Regions from separate parts of the Homo sapiens genome. Here region 2 is linked to region 1. Evidence: promoter capture Hi-C in human tissues and cell types (Jung and others, 2019). All regions are on one chromosome and are shown on one strand. The core of a region is centred on a gene start or on the middle of the fragment in contact, and the rest is flanking DNA. Distances in the headings are between cores, read along the strand shown.

The links. Contacts are between HindIII fragments. The study calls those that stand out against the background at their distance.
Region 2: a fragment that was not itself captured here is called in contact with the fragment with the promoter of MESP1 in region 1 in 2 of the 25 tissues and cell types used here (ovary and small bowel).

Annotation. Positions count from the first base shown.
Region 1 is chr15:89,749,935-89,752,553 of GRCh38, reverse strand. MESP1 (mesoderm posterior bHLH transcription factor 1) reads left to right here and starts at 1,305. Exons shown (of 2, transcript NM_018670.4): 1 at 1,305-2,045; 2 at 2,327-2,619. The coding sequence starts at 1,323. The coding sequence ends at 2,410. It also overlaps the pseudogene MRPL15P1. RefSeq lists silencers at 1,255-1,684, 1,745-2,034. The HindIII fragment of the contact is 13,666 bases long and covers 1-2,619 here.
Region 2 is chr15:89,708,385-89,711,003 of GRCh38, reverse strand. All of the region lies in intron 4 of WDR93 (WD repeat domain 93), which reads right to left. Among named protein-coding and RNA genes, the nearest start is that of WDR93, 19 kb to the right of the region's middle. The HindIII fragment of the contact is 4,089 bases long and covers 1-2,619 here.

The DNA.
Region 1 (2,619 bases), core at 56-2,555:
CTTCATTAAATCTGTATTTTGGGATTCCGATGTAAAATAGAGTCTGGCCATCCCCAAAGCCCAGCAGAGCCAGTTTCCTCTCTGCCTTTCTCTTTTATGGCCTCTGCCGCATTTTCTACCTCTTCTCCGACCTTTTGGTCGTCTCATGGGTTTCCTGGAGCCAGGATTCCGCTTTAAATTGGTCAGGCTCATGCGCAGCAGGGCCCAGAGCTGCCATAACCTGCGAAAAGAGTTTTATTTCTTCCTTTCTGACCTGTATGTCTTTTGTTTCCTAATTGCATAGCCTAGATCCTCCATCTGGTACAATGTTGAATAGGAGTGGTAAGAGAGACACCCTCGCTTTGTTCCTGCAATCGGGGGGTGGGGGGAAGATTTCAGTCTTTCACTACTCAGTATGAGGCTACCTGTAGGTTCTTTGTAGGAGCCTTTCATCAGGTTGATGAAATTCCTCTCTATTCTTAGTTTGCTGAGAATTTTCATCACGAAGGGTGTTGGATTTTGTCAAATGCCTTTGCTGCGTCATTTCCACTCACATTTCATTGGGAAAACCTGTTATACCTGTCCAATAGCGGCAGAACATCAGGTAAAGGCCAGTGGTGACAGCTGTGGCAACAGGCCAAGCTCCAGACCTTGCCAGGCTAGAGGTGGCCTGGGGTTGGAGCAGGCTTAACCCCCTCCCTCTGCTCAGAAGGTCCAGCATCCTGACCAGACTCGGCAGCTTATTGAATTTGCCGGGGTGCAAGCTTCCTTGCACTGTCCACATGTTCTTACCAGGGAAGGGTCTACCCAGGGCCATCCTGCCTCAAAGGAGAAGTGGTTTACTGTTTTCTCCACCTTTAGAGGGAATGAGGGTCCCTGCTCCTGGTCCTTACTCTACTCCACTGTCCAATTGGCGCATGCCCTGAGGCTCTCATTATACAAATTGGAAGCTAAGGTGCAAAAGAACTAAGAATTTGCATAAGGTCCCCAACAGGTGAAGGCAGGCCCCAAACCTAGGATCTAGATTTCGTTTTTCTGACCCCGCTTCCTTTAACCTGCAGGGCTGGCCCAACGCCCCGGGCTTCACCCAACACTGGGCGCAGGCGGGAAGGCCGAGAGGCTGGGTCGGGCGCCCAAGCGAGGGCCCAGGTGGGGCGAAACAGGCGCAGTCAAGGGGCTGGCACCTTGGCCCCCCGCCGTGGATTCAAAGGGTCAGGCTCCGCCCCCTCCAAGCCCCGAGCCCACTTTGATGTGCTGATGCGGCCTGGAAGGGGCCACTTCACACCTCGGGCTCGGCATAAAGCGGCCGCCGGCCGCCGGCCCCCAGACGCGCCGCCGCTGCCATGGCCCAGCCCCTGTGCCCGCCGCTCTCCGAGTCCTGGATGCTCTCTGCGGCCTGGGGCCCAACTCGGCGGCCGCCGCCCTCCGACAAGGACTGCGGCCGCTCCCTCGTCTCGTCCCCAGACTCATGGGGCAGCACCCCAGCCGACAGCCCCGTGGCGAGCCCCGCGCGGCCAGGCACCCTCCGGGACCCCCGCGCCCCCTCCGTAGGTAGGCGCGGCGCGCGCAGCAGCCGCCTGGGCAGCGGGCAGAGGCAGAGCGCCAGTGAGCGGGAGAAACTGCGCATGCGCACGCTGGCCCGCGCCCTGCACGAGCTGCGCCGCTTTCTACCGCCGTCCGTGGCGCCCGCGGGCCAGAGCCTGACCAAGATCGAGACGCTGCGCCTGGCTATCCGCTATATCGGCCACCTGTCGGCCGTGCTAGGCCTCAGCGAGGAGAGTCTCCAGCGCCGGTGCCGGCAGCGCGGTGACGCGGGGTCCCCTCGGGGCTGCCCGCTGTGCCCCGACGACTGCCCCGCGCAGATGCAGACACGGACGCAGGCTGAGGGGCAGGGGCAGGGGCGCGGGCTGGGCCTGGTATCCGCCGTCCGCGCCGGGGCGTCCTGGGGATCCCCGCCTGCCTGCCCCGGAGCCCGAGCTGCACCCGAGCCGCGCGACCCGCCTGCGCTGTTCGCCGAGGCGGCGTGCCCTGAAGGGCAGGCGATGGAGCCAAGCCCACCGTCCCCGGTTAGTGTCCCCTTCCCCGCGCCCCCTTCGTCCGTGCCCCCGCGCACAGCCCCACCGCCCGCCAAGGTGAGGACCAGGCACCCTGCTGCTCCCCGCCGGCAGCCTGGCCACCTGGCCACCATAGTATGCCCAGGGCTCCAAGAAGCGAAGGCAGGGAAAGGCCACGCAGAGGACTGGGTCTCCCCTCGCTAGGGGCCCCCTGAGAGTGGAGCCCACGAGCGCGGACACCCGCACAAGGCCACCAGTGCTTGAGGGCTGCGCTGTTCCGTCTCTCCCTACAGCTCCTTCCGGGCGACGTGCTGGCTCTGTTGGAGACCTGGATGCCCCTCTCGCCTCTGGAGTGGCTGCCTGAGGAGCCCAAGTGACAAGGGACAACTGACGCCGTCTCTGTGAGCACCGAGGCTTTTTGGCCTCAGCACCTTCGAAGTGGTTCCTTGGCAGACTGCCTTTCCTGGAAGAGGGCACGGGCGATCCCGACGGGGGCATTCCTGCGGGTGAGAGCCGTCCCCACCGCGGCGGCCCTTCTCAGCCCCTCCCTCCATGGAGGGACCCATAGGGCTAGACACTTTGAGGC
Region 2 (2,619 bases), core at 55-2,554, 42 kb after region 1:
CTAGACCATTCTTTGTAATAGGCAACAAAAGTAGGATACCTCAGTTCTATCATTCCTTCTGCATTTATTAGAATTCTTCTATAAGGAAGATCTTTCCATCATCAACCATTTTGTTGCCTTGAAATTGGTTGCCCATATGAAAAAGTCAGAATAAAAGCTTGATTCTTTCCCTTATCAGTTTTCAGAATACTGAGTTTCTGAAACTTCCCTCACAACTTCCAAAGTTGTGACAATAAAGTATTTAAAATATATTATCATGAATTAATGGATTTTAAATATTTTTATGTGTTTTAATCCACCAACAGTACTTTTTTTGTAACATCCCTGATAATTTGAATATCATAGTTATGCTGGTCTCATAAAATGAGTTGCGGGACATTCCCAGTATTTTTTTTTTCTTAGGAGAGTTTATTTAAAGATAAAATTTAAATATAGGTAAAGGCACAGGTATTAAATGCATAACTTGATGAGTTTTGACAAACTTATACGTCCCTGTAACTAACACCCTGTCAAGGTATAGGACGTTACCATTATCCTAGAAAGTTACCGTATGCCTGTTTGAGCCAACTACACTTCCATATGCAACCAATGTTCTGCTTTCCATCGCTAACACAGATAAATTTCGCCTGTTCTTAAGTTTCATATAATTTCATAATTAGAACCTACTCTTTTGTGTCTGGCTTCTGTCATTCAACTTGATGTTTTTGAGTTTCATCTGCTGCGTTGTAATCATCAGTTGTTTATTATTTATTATTGCCGATTAGTGTTCCATTGACTTAGTCTACCACAAATTTTTATTTGTTCTCTGATTATGTTTTTTTGTTTTCGTTTTTGTTTTTGTTTTGAGACGGAGTCTCACTCTGTCGTCCAAGCTGGAGTGCAGTGGTGCGATCTCAGCTCACTGCAATCTCCGCCTCCTGGGTTCAAGCAATTCTCCTGCCTCAGCCTCCCAAGTAGCTGGGACTACAGGCGCGTGCCAGCACACCCGGCTAATTTTTTGTATTTTTAGTAGAGACGGGGTTTCACCGTGTTAGCCAGGATGGTCTTGTTCTACTGACCTCGTGATCCGCCCGCCTCAGCCTCCCACAGTACTGGGATTACAGGCAGGAGCCACTGTACCCGGCCTTGATTATTTTTTTTTTTATTACAAATACAGCTGCTATGAACATCTTGTACAAATCTTTTTGTGAACAAATGTTTTCATTTCTTTTGGGTAAATACCTAAAAATGGGCTTGATGTATCATAGGTTTAACTTTGTAAGAAACTACCTCACCTGTAATCTCAGCACTTTGGGAGGCCAAGGTGGGAAGACTGCTTGGGTCCAGGAGTTCAAGACCAGTCTGGGCAACATGGCGAAACACTGTCTCCTTTTGTAAATGTCAGTTTAAGTCTTTTGCCTATTTTTTATTGGGTTGTCTTTTTATTACTGATTTGGAGTTCTTTATATATTCTGGATACAAATACTTTGAAGGATATATAAATATATATAAAGTATATATATATAAAACAGGTATTTTCTCCCAGTCTTTGGCTTGTTTTTACATTTTCTTATTATATTTATTATTATTTAAGGCCTTTATTAGCAGTTTGCAGTTTGGCTTTTTAAAAACCAGATGCTGCACTGATAATGCAATTAGTTCTAGTTATCTGGTTAACAGGCAAAAAATAAATAAATAAATCACCCCCACCCTGCCCAGCCTCAGGATCCAAGGCATTCTCAGCTGGTGGATCCCTTGCTTTTGTCTCTGCCACAGTGGGGTTTAGGATTTTCTGGACATCTACATCTGTAACTGAAGTTGCAGTTGTTGACCTTGTGTCTCATCTTGATTTTCCTTTTCCTCTTCATTGCTGACCTCTCTGTCTTTGGTGAGAAGGGGCCCTGGAGAATTGTGGTGTAGGATTGTGTCACTGGTCCACCTTGTTCTCCTGCACCCTGGTTATCAGTACCTCCATCACTTCTCCCTGCACCGGACGGCTGCAATAGTGTGGGCACCTGGCCGTCACAGCCACAATAGTGGTGCACCACAATAATGTGGGTACCCACAGGGTCGCCACAGGCTAGAAGCCCATGCCTGGGCCAGCTGTTGAGCCTGGCCTTCAGGAACACTCTCTGACCTTTGGTCATTTCCCCACTCTCACTGTTCTGATAATTCGGCTGGTGAGTGAGTGGAGGACTGGCCCTACAATGCGGACAGCATTCATAATGGTTAGTCTGCTGCAGATCTACTTGCCTTGCATAGGAATGCAATTAGGGCCTGTAACATTTGCGACCTCCATACCCTTCAATAACCTCAAACTCCATCTACTACACTGGGAAAGCACTTCCTGGGGTTATTCTTTTATGACTGTCTGTGTCCAAATACACCTCCTTGATGTCCTTTCTGTGGATGAAAACATAGCCATTCCTGACATTGAATCATCTGTTTCCGAAATTTTCATTGCAATGACGCTCTTGTCCTAGCCACCCTAGCAACCACTTCTTATGGTGCAGATGTGGGCACTGCTGAGGACTGGCAGCTGCTGGGTCTCAGCCTCCTTGCTCAGGGTAGTGGTGATGGTGACTAGAGCCAGCTGCGACAACTGTAGCTCCTCCAGGGTGTGACTGTCACTAGGACGGG